Linked DNA regions of Homo sapiens: region 1 is linked to region 2. Evidence: promoter capture Hi-C in human tissues and cell types (Jung and others, 2019). All regions are on one chromosome and are shown on one strand. Each heading gives the region's core, a stretch centred on a gene start or on the middle of the fragment in contact. The rest is flanking DNA. Distances are from core to core; before and after follow the strand shown.

What was found. The method cuts DNA at HindIII sites, captures the fragments that hold promoters and counts their contacts. A contact is called where the count stands out against the background at its distance.
Region 1: a fragment that was not itself captured here is called in contact with the fragment with the promoter of CCNH in region 2 in 1 of the 25 tissues and cell types used here (dorsolateral prefrontal cortex).

The regions. Positions count from the first base shown.
Region 1 is chr5:88,180,042-88,187,551 of GRCh38, reverse strand. It overlaps a transcript of TMEM161B not described here. Among named protein-coding and RNA genes, the nearest start is that of TMEM161B, 85 kb to the left of the region's middle. The HindIII fragment of the contact is 4,155 bases long and covers 76-4,230 here.
Region 2 is chr5:87,410,713-87,417,929 of GRCh38, reverse strand. CCNH (cyclin H) reads left to right here and starts at 5,000. Exons shown (of 9, transcript NM_001239.4): 1 at 5,000-5,252; 2 at 6,584-6,706. The coding sequence starts at 5,136. It overlaps LOC105379066 (a long non-coding RNA gene), which reads right to left and starts at 4,948. Exons shown (of 3, transcript XR_948543.1): 1 at 4,869-4,948. RefSeq lists enhancers at 5,044-5,213, 5,244-5,373. The HindIII fragment of the contact is 10,921 bases long and covers 1-7,217 here.

The DNA of each region.
Region 1 (7,510 bases), core at 904-3,403, 770 kb before region 2:
AGCTTTTTACCAACATGTATAAGACCTGTACACTGAACTCTACAAAATGTTAAGAGAAATTAAAGTAGACATAAGTAAATGATATGTTTCACATGAATGTATTGGAAGACTCAATGTTGTATAAATGTTATATAAATTAACACAAATGTTATATAAATTCAACACAATCCAAATAATAGTTTCACCAAATTCAAACAAAAGTTTTCTATCTGATCTTAAATTTATATGGAAATGTAAAGTACTTAGATTGTCCAAAGTATTTTGCAATGGAAAAAGTTAGAGGATTTGAAGATTTACTATAAAGTGATGTTGTGATTCTGCCATAAAGACAAACAAATGGATCAATGAAAGAGAGAGCTGAGAAATAGTCTCATACTTACACACTCATTTAATTTTTGACAAAGGTGTCAAAGCAATACAATGGGGAAAGGAGAGTCATTGCAACAACTGGTGCTAGAATAATTGGATGTCCACATTTTAAAAAAATGAACCTCAATCCCCACCTCATACTTTACACAAGAATCAATTCAAGAGCCAAATGTAAAAGCTACAACATAGTTTGGCAATTAGTGGTGGATAGAGATTTCTTAGGACACAAAGTATTAACCATAAAATTGGTTTGTTGTTGTTGTTGTTGTTGTTGTTGTTTGAGACAGAGTCTCACTTTGTTGCCCAGGCTGGAGTGCAGTGGCACAATCTCAGCTCACTGCAACCTCTGCCTCCTGGGTTCAAGCAATTCTCCTGCCTTAGCCTCCTGAGTACAGGCGTGTGGCTAATTTTTTTTTTTAGTAGAGACGTTTCACCATTTTGGCCAGGCTGGTCTCGAACTTCTGACCTCAGCTAATCCACCTGCCTTGGCCTCCCAAATTCCTGGGATTACAGGTGTGAGCCACCGCACTTGGCCCCCATAAAATGGTTTTTAATAATAAAAGATTTCATAGAAATTAAAAACTTATGCTCATCAAAAAAAGGAAATAGACATGTTAAAACTTGAAATAAAATACTTGCAAAACGAGACAAAAGACTGGAATCAGGATATATAAAGAATTAAAAAAAATAGATTAGGAAATGGGTGAGACATTTGAATAGGCACTTCACAGTTGACCATTAAGCACATGAAAAAGTGTTCAACCTCTAGCAATTCGATTATGATGATCCTTGGTATTGTTTTATGTTTCTTATTACTTGGGTTCATTCAGGTTCTTTGATCATTGGCTTTTTATTTCAGGCCACGTTAAAGGCTGACTAGTTTTTCCTCCTGAGGAAAGAGGAGAAATTTGATTGCAATGCATCGTTGGACTTTACAATTTTCTTGACATCTGTTTCTGCAAAAGAATGTGTTTAAAGGGTGTTATATTCTTAAAAGTGCCTAGGATGGCTACATAAAATGTTTAGTAAAAGCACTGCCTGTATAAATACATGTAAGACCTTTCAGTTACATACTCAGACATGTGGAGTAAACTTGATACTATTAATAGTTTTCTTTGACTCTTTATAGGTGTCGATTTTGCTTGAGAATATTGAAGGTCTTGACAGAAGTTGTGGATTTCAGTTTTAACAAATGTGTTTTAAGTGGAAGAGCATTTTCCTGGTCTTGTCCCTCCAATTTGAGAATTAGAAATGCCATGTTTATGATTATTCAGCTGTATTTGTTGCTAACTTGTAAAGCAATACAAACATTTTTTGGTCTGTTTGACTGAATTTGTCCCACAACTCATTGTTGCTCTGTTCATTTTTTTCCAGGTTTCTTTTTTCTTTCTGTGTTTCATTTTGGATAGTTTTTATTGCTATGCTATGTTTTCAATTTGTCTTTTTATTTTTGGCAGCATCCTGTCTGGTATTTAACTAATTCAGTGAAATTTTCAATCTCAGACATTTTAAAAAACCTTTAGAACTAAGTTCAAATTGAGTCTTTAAAAATACGTTTATGCTTTCCTCTACTTTCTTGAACATATAAAATATAGTTATAATAGCAGATTCAATGTTCTTGTCTACTAATTTTATCTTGTGTCTATTGAATGATTTTTCTTTTCATTGTGGGTCATGTTTTCCTGCTTCTTTGCATCACTGAAAATCGTTGACTGGATTCCAGACATTATGAGTTTTGCCTGTTGAGTACAAGGTATTTTTTTCCTTAAATAGAGTAATGTACTACATAATAACTTTTTGGTCAACAATGAACTGGGTATATAACGGTGGTCCCATAGGATTATAATGGAGTTGAAAAATTCCTATCACCTAGTGATGTCGTAGCCATCATAACATTGTAGTGCACTGCATTGCTCATGTTTGTGGTGATGCTGGCGTAAACAAACCTGCTGCACTGGCAGTCATATAAAAGCCTAGCACACAATTATACACAGCACATTATACTTAATAACAATAATAAGCTACTATGTTACTGGTTCATGTATTTGTTACACTTTTTATTATTACTTTAGAGTATAGTCCTACTTATTAGAAGAAAAAAGCAGGTCATTTAGAAGGTATTCCAGAAGAAGACATTGTTATCATGGGAGATGACAGTGCCATGCTTGTTACTGCCCCTGAAGACCTTCCAGTGGTATAAGATGTAGAGGGTAAGACAGGGATATTGAGGATTCTGATGCTGTGCAGGCCTAGGCTAATGCAGGTGTGTCTTGTTTTCTAACAAAAAGTTTAAAAAATAAAAATAAAAAGCTTTGAAAATAGTAAAAAGCATATAGAATAAGCATATAAAGGAAGTAAATATTTTTGTACAGCTCTGTGTATTTGTGTTTTAAGCTAAGCTATTACAAGAACCCAAAATTGAAAAATAAAAAGTTTATAAAGTAAAAAGTGACAGTAAGCTAAGTTTAATTAATTATTGAAGAAAGACAATATCTTTGTAAATTTAGTGTAGCCTATGTATACAGTGTCTGTAAGTCCACAGTAGTGTGCAGTAATGTCCTAGGCCTTCACTTTCCCTCATCACTCACTGATTTATCCAAAGAAACTTCCAGTCCTACAAGTTCCATTTATGGTAAGTACCCTAGACAGGTATACTATTTTTAATCTTTTATACTGTATTTTTACTATACTTTTTCTGTTTAGCTATGGTGAGATACACAAATACTTAAAATTGTGTTACAATTGCCTGCAGTATTCAGGACAGTAAGAAACTGCACAGGTTTGTAGCCTAGGAACAATAGGCTATACCATATAACATAGATGTGTAGTAGGCTGCACCATCTTGGTTTGTGTAAATCCACCCTATGATGTTTGCACAATGATTAAATTGCCTAATGACACATTTCTCAAAACCTATCTCCATCGTTAACCAGTGCATAATTGTATTCTTGAGCTTTGTGCTGGGATCCAACTAAGTCAGTAGGAAACCAAGGAGGCAGTTTTGATTCTTTTGAGGCTTGTATTTAAGGTGAGATCAGACTTTAATTTCATGCTAATTTTTACCCATACTGAGGCAATACCCTTTTGAATACTTTACCAATGCCCCACGTATTAAAAGGTTTTCCTACTTTGGCTAATGGGAACAGGAATTACACTATTCCTATCCATGTATGAATCCAGAGGATTATTCTGCCTGTCCTTTTTGGTGATTCTTTCCCCAACACTTAGAAATTTCCTCAAATGCATGCATTGGTCAGAACTTGGCTGAAGATGTGAGGGAACCTTCAACCTCTATAGATAGAGCTTCCTCACACCGCAGCCTTCCTTTCTGGTACTCTTTTCTGTCAATTGTAGTTCCCTTAGCCTTACCAGATTCTCAACTCAGGAAGACCACTGGGCTTTGTTTAGTTTTTCCCCTGTGCTGTGACTGGACAATCAAGTCAGTAAGCTGGAACAATCAAGGTTTCAAGTAGAATTTCTTTAGTTATTTAGTTTTGTAAAATAGAGGAATGAATCTGCTCCCTATTAATTTCACCTTAATTGGAAGAGGAAGTCCCCAGCTTCTGATTTTAATTTCTTCTTAGAGAATTTTTATTCCCCCAGTAATATTCCTTTCAGAGACAGGCTTCCATTCACATGCAATTTTAAAAGATGTGTAACTCAACATTATTAGTCATCAGGGATATGCTAATTAAAATCAAAATGAAATACCACTATACTAAATGTAGACAAGGATATGATGCAACTGGAACTCTGATACTTTGTGGTACAACTACTATGAAAATGACATGGCTACTTTGCAAAAAAGTTGTAATAGTTTCTTATAAAACTAAATTTATACCTATCCTGTGACCCAGCAATTTTACATTTATGTGTTTACTCAAGAGAAAAACACATCTACAAAAAGGTCAAGAATGTTCATAGCAGCTTTATTCAAAGTAGTCCCAGACTAAAAAAAGCCCAGGTGTCTATCAGTAGTAGAATATGTACACACACTGGTATAAATATACAATGGAATAATAGCAGTGAAAAAAGTACAAACTGATGATTTATGCAAAACCTGGATGAATCTTTAATATGCTGAAATAAGTCTTTTAAAACAGAGTGCATACTGTAAATTCAATTTATATAAATTTCTAGAATAAACTAATGTACGGTGGAAAATATCAGAAGAATGGTTGACTTTCAGGAAGGGTAGAGGTAGGGATTGACTGGGAAGAGGCATAAGGAAACTTTCTGGAATGAGAATGTTTTATATCTTGTAGGATTTGGGTTAAATGGGTATATGCCTCTGTCAAAATTCAATGGATGTCCACTTAAAATTTGTGCATTTCATCTAATGTAAATTTTACCCAAAAAGGAAAAAACTATGAGGAAAAAAACTAAACATATTGAACTCGAATAATATGCAAAGAATATTTAGGGGGAACTATATCTGTAATTTACTTAAAAATTCCCACCGAAATAAGATAAATTGCTAGAACTATGAGTGATGAGTTGATAGATACATTTTAAAACATAAAATATGTAGCATCCAAGTGAAGCATACATGTGTGTTCATTGTAAAATTCAACCTTCCAAGAATATTACTTGAAATATTATAATGAAATTTTGAAAAATGAAGAGTATATAGGTTGAGCATCCTAAGTTTGATAATATGAGATCTGAAATGCTCCAAAATCCAAAACTTTTTGAGTGCCCACATGATGCTCAAAGGAAGTACTAATTGGAGCATTTTGGATTTCAGACTTTTGGATTTGGAATGCTTAACTGGTAAGTATAATGCAAAAATATTCCAAAACCAGAAAAAAACCCCAAATCTGAAACACTTCTGGTTGCAAGCATTTTGGATAAGAGATAATCTGTATTATGAACAGCCTTACATCAATAAATTTGACAAATGAAGCGAAACATTTATTGGAAAAGGCAATTACCAAAGCAGCAAAAGAAGAAATAGAAAAATCTTAAGTAAAGGAAATCCATTATTTAAAAATTTCTGTACAAAGAAAATTCATAGCCCAGATGGCTTTATCTGCAAATTTTGCCCAATAGTTGAGGAAGAAATAATAACAATTTTGCACAAACTCTTCCAGAGTGAATGGTTCCTTACTCTTTTTATAAGGCAAGGTAATATTGACTGCAGAATCTGACAGGCATATTACAAGAAAGGAACAAATTAAAAACCAATCTCTCTCATAATTATAGATGTAAATACCCTTAGTAAAAATATTAGCTAATCCAATTTAGTGATATATGCATCATACCAAGTGAGATTTAATCCAGGTTCATTTTACATCTAAAAGCCAGTTAACATAATTTATCAGATTGAGAGGAAAAAATGCAAACAGCTAAACTAAATCTTATGATTCAGGAAAAGCATTTGACAAAATGTAATAGCCATTCACAATAAAGCTTTTCAGAAAATTAGGATGAGAGAGAAGCACCCTTAATTGGAGGAAGATTATCTACTAAAAACCAACAGCAAACATTAATCATGAAGCATGTTATTGAAGACTTTTCTCTTGTGTTCAGAAATGAGACAAGGATTCCTACTATGACCATTTCCATTTAGTCTTGTACTGGAGGTCCTAGGCAGTAAAGTAACGCAAGATCAAAACAAACAAACATTAAGATTAGAAGGGTCAAAACTGTCATTATTCACTATTCAATATGATTGTGTATGTGTACCTAAAATATGTATTTAAAATTCCTCATAAAAATATAAAAACTAAACTGTATTTGCAAGGTTGCTGTACACAGGTCAATATTTAAAAAATTAGTTGTGTTTTCACATAACAGCAACTGACTGAAAACAATATTTTTAAATGTTGCCATTGACCGTAACATCAAAAGCCCCCAAATACATAAGACTAAATCTAATAAAAGATGTGCCAAGACCTCCTCACTGAAAAATTACAAAACATTTTTGTAAGTGAAGAATTTCTAAATAAATGGAGAGATATATAAAGTATTATTGCACAGATGTCAATCCCTCAAATCTACAATTTCAGTACAGTCTCAATAAAAAGCCCAGCAGCTATCTTTGTGGAAACTAGTAAATTGATTTAAAAATTCATATGGAGTACAAAAAACCAAGATTTGTTGATGCAATTTTGAAAAAGAAGAACCCAGAGAAAATGATACATTCTAAAGTTCTTCTAATAAAGTCGATGTGCTATTGCTAAGTGGTTTTAGAGAAATATGACCAATAAAACAGACCAGAAATTCCAGGAACTGACCCATACACACACAAACACCTACTTTAATTTTTTTTAAACTTTAAATTTTTGTGGCTACATAGTAGGTGTATACATGAGATATTTTGATACAGGCATGCAATGCATAATCACATCAGAGTAAATGGGGTACCCATCACCTCAAGCATTTATCCTTTGTTACAAGTCATACTGCAAATAAGTACAAGAAGTGATCTTTTCATTTAATGATGATGAATCAGTTGCATATCTATACAGAATAAAAGTGTATGTTGACCCTTTTCTCAGACCATACAAAAAATTACAGACAGATTGCAGGTTTAACCTACATGTGATTTTTGACTAGGCAAAACTGGGGAAACTGGACCAAAAAAAACCTGCTTATAAAGAAAATTGGTTAAATGGACTATATTAAAATTAAAAAACTCTGTTCACAAGAGAAAAATACCATCAGGAGGGTAAAATAAGACCTTGTAATGAGATTTTAAAAAACTTTCCAAAACACCTCATACCCAGAATCTACAAAGTATACTTACAATCAATTATATTTATATATTTTTAAAAGACACCAAAAAAAAAAAAGAAAATGGATGTCACAAATGAGGATATCCGAGTGGTCAATAACATGAAAACATGCATGACTTCATTAATTATCAGGAAAATTAAAGTACAGTGTGGTACTACTATACATCTAACAAAAGGGCTAAGTTTGAAAAGGTGGAAAATATCTTCAACCTCATTCTTGTTGGTAAAATAAGAAACAAAAGATGGAAAATAACAAGCATTGGCAAGAATGTGAAGAACTTTCACAACGTAAATGAGGATTTAAATTGCTGTACATTCTAAGCAATTGCTATATATTGCTATGTATCCTAATTGCTATACATGTTAAACTGAAATACTTAGTCATTTTCTTCTAAGGCTGA
Region 2 (7,217 bases), core at 3,751-6,250:
CACTTATAGACTTAATCCCCTGTTCTATTTCAATTATTTTAATGATGGCTTTATAAAGTCCTCACTATCAAAAGAGTCACAAATAATTTCCAGATTAAAGTAATGCAACTCTGATCATTTCATTCGCCAATTGAAAAATTTTGACATTCAAAGCCCTCTTATTCTCCAATCAATCAAGCTATTCTACTTCCTAGTCTTTAGACACACCCTGCACATTGTGCCCTTTTGCCTTTACTCAAGCAAATCCTATCCACCAACAGTGCCCTCTCCATCAGCATCAATACAAATTCACAAAAATGTTGTATCTTCCAATTAGCCTATGCCATGTGTCAATGAAGTAATAATTAACAATTTAAAACATTTTATGGAAGCCAGCCAGTCTGCTATATCTTCACATGTATTAACTAATTTAATCCTCACAACCACCTTATGAGGTAGCTACAACTATTTTCTTCACTATGCAAGAGATGAAACTTAGGGCAAGATAGGTTGAAGTGACTTTCTCAAAAATGCTTTATTAATGACACTTTATTAATGAAGAATGGTGAGACAGACCTTTTCAAAGTCAGCTATGGAGACAGGTTTCGGGACCACTGCAGTAAGGTCTTGCAGTGGGGGAGTGAGATTGGACTCAATTCTAACTCCAATAAGGACAAGTGGGAATTTATAACCAAGAAGCAGGTTGGGGAGCAATGGATGGAAAATTACTAAGAGGAAACACCAAGGATAAAGGATTTCTGGCTAAACTGACCTGATAGGATTATTGCTGAAGGCAGGTCAGGGTGATAAGATATTGAGGGTGGTCTGATACCAAGGGTGGGGGATATTCATTAATGTGACGTGTCAGGATTCTTGTTCCAACTGGATTCTACAGATGGTCTCCAACTTACAATGATTTGATTTTATGATGGTGCGAAAGCCGTATGTATTCAATGGAAACACTTCCAGTTTTGAATTTTGATCTTTTCCCGGGCGAGTGATTTACAATACAAACCCGCTCCTGATGCTGGGCAGTGGCAGTGAGCCGCAGCTCTCAGTCAACCATGCGGTCACAAGGACCATGTTTAAGGTAGGCTAGGCCAAGCCATGATGTTCAATAGGTTAGCTATATTAAGTGCACTTTCCACTTGGAATATTTTCAACTTATGATGGGTTTTTTGTTTTTTTTTTTTGCATCGTAACTTCATCCTAAGTCGAGAAGCATCTGTACTAGAATAGAGAGGAAAGCCCAAGATCAGGCTTAGTCAAGCAGAGGACTCAGAGAAAAGCCTGATTAAAGTTTTGGTCAAAGGAGAGAGTGTGTGTCAGCCCTATCCAAGGTTACTGTCATTGAGAGGGGATTGTATTCGTACATGCCATAATTCTACTATAGTCCAAGGATCCTGGGACAAGAACTATGAGATAGTCATTTTTGTGACCCCATCACCGTATCACTACCACCTAACAATTAGTACTAGGCCTTGTGTATAGTGATTTACTAATTTTTGCTGAATTGAAGATGGCTTTATAGGATTTTCTCTTTAGTATGTTGTCATGTCTTCTTTATGCCTTAATTTGAAATAGTCTTAAAGCAAAATAAAAAACATTTCAATTTTGAGGGGGTCACATATAGATCAACGATATTTTTTAAATGCTATTTCTTCTTCTTATTTCTTTTCCTTTAGTAGTATTCTATTTTCTAGAAACCAGGTACTTGCTTCAGGCGACTCCTTTTCTTCTCTTAGTTGTAACTTGACATCTGAGAATAAAACTAAGAAAGGATTTTGCAGCCAATGCTGCAAATACAAATTTGTTAATTGTGTATTAACCAAATACAATTGCAAAGGGTTATTAAATACTCATTGTAAAGCTGTATTTTAAATGTCACGAATCCATGTCAGTAGCTGAAGGCATACAGTTTTATGTTAGATTTTAAAGTAAGAAAGATATTGTGTGTTTTTGTGAGCATAGATGTGGTTTGGTCTCTTCTATCCCTTTTGTGTGTGTGTGTGTGTGTGTGAGTGGCCCTGCAATCAGAAATGGTGTGAACGTGAGTATGCTGATGTGTTTGGGAAATGAGGACTACAAATTAATCTGGCCACTTTATAAGATGTTTTATATTAGACTGCAAAATTATTTCAGTTGCAAACATATTTACTGGTCACTCCCACAACCTTTTAATTCCCCTTTTCTTCCTTTTCTCCTAAGATCAGGCAATATGACCTTTTTACTTTTATTTTTCCCTAAACATTAAGATCACTAGGTAGACCGCAAAGAAGGAAGACTGTCCTGAAGCAAGAGAAAGGAAATCCTAATACTCTTATGGGAAATTTTGGAATAGCACGTGGATAAGTACAGGACATTTCTGTGGTGGCCAAACAGATGACACCTGCTTGGCATCACCTAATCTCTGATTGGTAACCCTTAGTTTACAGGTAATGCCTGCAAGTCAAAATATTTGGAATTTGTCTACAAGTACATACCATAGCACAATTTAACAACTGCAGCACAATAAAAGAGATTGTATTTACTTTTAAAAGTCATTGAAATATTTCTTAACATTTCACTTCTGAGTAGTGTCTAATGAAATAGTGATATCTTTGTCAACAAGCTGTGAATTTCCCTATGTCTTCTAGGAAGAATAGGTTCTGTCTGGTTAGTTGGTTTGTTCTTGTTTGAAATATCTTCATTTAGTAGCAGGGACATTGTGATTTAAAACTAATGGAGTTGGGAGGCCCAGGCAGGCGGATCACTTGAGGCCACAAGTTCTAGACCAGCCTGGCCAACATGGTGAAACCCCATCTCTACTAAAAATACAAAAATTAGCTGGGCATGGTGGCATGAGCCTGTAGTCCCAGCTACTCAGGAGGCTGAGGCTGGAGAATGGCTTTAACCCAGGAGGCGGAGGTTGCAGTGAGCGAAGATTGTGCCACTGCACTCCAGTCTGGGTGACAGAGCAAGACTTTGTCTCAAAAAAGAAGAAGAAGAAGAAGAAAAAAACCTAATGGAGGTGTGGGTGGAGGGTAGAAGGGAACTGGCCATGTATTGATAATTTTTGAAATATGTTTCTCTGTATTCTTTATATTTGAAATTCTCCATAAATAAATAAGTAAAAATAATAGAAGTGAAGAGAAACACTTGCTACTTTTTAGTTGAAACTAGAAATGGAAATAGGTAAAGGCACAAGTTCTGCATTCCAGTGTGCCTCCTGTGGTAGCAATAGCAAAGAAACACTGTCGCACAACAGGCTGAGTAGGAGACTGTCACAGCATCCAGTCTGCTTACCTTAGTAAGAAAAACCATACATGAGCCTTAATGTTAGGGCATCAGCAACAATTGTATTCCTCAGACAGTTAATTTAGACAGAGCCCAATTCCTACTACATCTGAAAAATAAGATCAATGTCAATTTTCATGGACTAAAATTTGTTCAAGGTTTAAAAAAAATTACACCAGCAATGCCAGGTTTTTCATATATTTTTCCTAAATGACATTCAGAAATTTTACTCATATCTCTGTGGAAATCACAGTCTGCCAACTCTTTTAAATGCCTATTTTTATTATCCTTTACATAAAACTAAGGAGTTGTCAAATATCTTTCAGAAAAACAAAATGAAAAGAATTTATATGATATATATAACAGTCATGAGGCTAAGACTTTATATAGACATTTAATTATCTAGATCACTTATTTTCCTATCTTTTGTACCATTATGTTTTTCTCTTTTAAATTATTCTTTCCCCAACATGCAACATTTTAGGTTGTTCACAATTCATTGTAATCAATTTGCCATGCCCTTTGATCTTCTCTTTTTCTCTCTTTTCTTAGCCAATTTATGAGACCAGGTTAGCCACATATGTTGAGTGTGTGGCTCTCCAAAATTATATACCACAAATGGCATAAGTTTGAGGAATTCAGATAACTGTGGCAAACTCTAACCTCAGCTGTACCCAACAAAAATGAAAAAGAAAAGGCTTTCCCTTTCTTAAGCCCCTAAAAACATTTTAATAGAAAGCAGAGTTAAAGTCATCCTGCCACTTCTTCTTTTTACCTGTGTGGGCTTTTCAAGACCTAAATTCTCTAGGTCTCATCATCTTTCTCTTTCTTTTTATTTATTTATTTATTTTTTAGAAAAGCTATTTGCCATAGGGAAATCCATTTTTCGGATTGGATATATAATAAATACATGAGAGAATAAGGTATGCCTAAATGGGACAAACCAGAATCCATGTAAATTTTGAACCTCACCTGCAATTTTGAAAGTCCTATTAATTTAAAAAATAGTAAATACCTTAATTTTCATGATAGCTTACTGTAAGGCTCCCTAGAGGCAATGAAAATGGGAATCTCAATAAAACGAATACTACCATACATCCTGGCTTCAGAGATGAAAACAGAGGGAGAGGATTGGCTAGTTATCAACAGAAGGGTAAGGAAAAAAAGCACAGAGAAAGAACAGACAAGGCAACAAAAGTGGCAGAACTGTAAGGGCCAATACGCATCCACTGCTTCAAGTTTTTCAGCCATGTTCCATTCTCCGAGATTTCTGGTAGTGCTTCAAGAATACTGGTCTCCAAACTCTTCCTGAAAAGGGCTAGGAATGCTTCTGCCTGAAGATCTTACCTATTCTTTCTGGGCCCCGTGATCTCCCTACATGATTGATCAACCTACTATTTCAACTCTTTCAAGCCTTTTCACAAATGTCAACTTCAGTGAGGCCTCTATTTAAAAATGAGCACCCTACGAAATCCTTTCCTCATTTCTGATTATCCCCTGTGAATTTACATCTGCCTACTCCGTACCCTCAGTTTATGCCCCTTGAACACTCTTGCCGGGCGCTTCTCCTTTAAATCTTGCCTGGAAGGGGCGGAGCTATGTCCCAGACTCACCGAGAGGAGCGTTCTCTAGGCTCCGCCCACTTACGTCTCAGTGGGCGCCCTAACGAACCCGGGATACGGTCTGTTCCTAGTCCGCTCCGGAAATGCAACTGCGTACGGGCTGGCCGCGTAATCGTGACGACAGCGCGCCAGCGCCGGCTAGCCGGACGCCCTAGGCTTCCGCGAGATCTTCGGTGGGGGTACGGGTGTTTTACGCCAGGACGCTGATGCGTTTGGGTTCTCGTCTGCAGACCCTCTGGACCTGGTCACGATTCCATAATGTACCACAACAGTAGTCAGAAGCGGCACTGGACCTTCTCCAGCGAGGAGCAGCTGGCAAGACTGCGGGCTGACGCCAACCGCAAATTCAGATGCAAAGCCGTGGCCAACGGGAAGGTGAGGTTTTCCCAACGGTTGCCCAGTTGCCCGGTCACTAAATTCTGAGCAGCTGCGGGAGCTCTTCTGGCTCCCAGGACAATCTCGCTCCGTCGTTTCTCTGCCTCTGCGGCGCGGAGTGCGTTTTTCTATCAAAATAAGCGAGCACCTTGCCAGGTTCCGTGGGTACAAAGACGAACAACGCCATCCCCGTCGTCGAATGGCAGACAAGTAACCAGTCTTTGTAACGTAGTGAAGAAGAGAGTAAGTAGTGTGCTAAGGTAGTGCGTGGCAAGAGCCGTTCACTTGTCAAGAGATGATGTTGGGGAAGGTTTTTCCCAGTAGCCAATGCGGAGAAAATGGGAAAGGAAGTTCCAGGCAGTCAGAACCACCGTTCAGAGTGGGAGGGAGGTCAGAAGTTACAGAGATGGTGCGTGGACGTGTTTGTGGTCGTATGTGGCCGAAGTTGAGTACCTGTGCAGGAATGGCTGGGGAGGGTAGGAAGGGAACTTGTAAGTGGAAGTGAGGCGTTTAACATTTCCACTGAAAGGATGAGGAACCTTTGAAATATTTAAAATGGGAAGCTAACCTTATCAGATTTCCGTTCTGGAAACAGCGCTCTAGCAACCTCGTGGTGAATGGGTTGGATGAGGGAGGGAGACCAGAGACCAAGTACAAACCAAGTGACTGAAGATGGTTTGGACTATGGCCCGCTAGCCAAGTTCCTTCTGTTACAGCTCTCGGACTGGTTTAATCTTTCCTGCAAGCTCCACTCCAGCAAGTGTTCAGTGCCTCCAAATTACCGATACTGAGTTACTTTACTTTCTACCTTTAATTCACATCTATTTCATATCACTGATTTTAGCACCTGAATTAGTTTCCTAAGGGCTGCCTTAAAAAAATCACCACAAACTGGGTAGCTTAAAATAACAGAAATTTATTGAAACATTTGCTGTTTTTTTACAACTTGTGACGTAATGACTGACCGAGAAACGGATGTTGGAAGCTTTCCAATCATATTTTAAAAAGTCTGTCTACTTTTTAATTTATAAATAATGATATCACAACTGTGAGCATGTGCACACAGCCTGTCATGATTGTTTATACTTTAATGAAGCAAAGGTCTAGCTGACATTCCGAAAAGTCGTGAAATGATGGTACAGTTTTAGTTTATTAAATATTTTCCTACAGCTATTTTGTGTAATGATTAGCGAATCTATAAAGAAAATGAGGCGTGATATATACCCTTCGTTGGATATATAAACTAAATTTAATCTAGATAGAGAAAAATGTTTTACAATTGTTTAATTCATTGAATTCATTGAACTTGTGTTGTAATTGTTGATCTAAAGGTTCTTCCGAATGATCCAGTCTTTCTTGAGCCTCATGAAGAAATGACACTCTGCAAATACTATGAGAAAAGGTTATTGGAATTCTGTTCGGTGTTTAAGCCAGCAATGCCAAGATCTGTTGTGGTAAGTTACAGTGGTGATGAAATATAATGTCCTTTAGTTGGCTTGTGAAATTTGACCTCTTCTAAATTCCCTGTCCACTCAAGTCTTAAAAATTCACCTTAGTTACAATTAATTAGTTTTTGGCACATTATATATTTTTCAATACAGGCCTTAAATCATGAGTTGCTGTATCATATCTTCAAAAGTATTTCAAGTCTCACTTTGTGGTCAGAAAAAAATTTGAGGTCAGGTAATGTCATAAAGAAAGAAAAAAAATAAATTACTTTCCTCTAAGTTCTCAACTAATGAGCCATAGGACTGGGACTAGAACATAGACTACTGCTTTTCCAACTCTGTGACACCCAATAAATGTTTGAAATAATGCATTCATTCATCATTGGTAATCATATGCCCCAGCTGAAACTGATACCATAAGATTTTTTTAAGCCTTGATTAGTAGAAGCTGGAGTTTTATCTTTGGTGAAAAAGATTGCCTTATTGTTTCAGATGTATGGTTCTGAGGACCTATTTG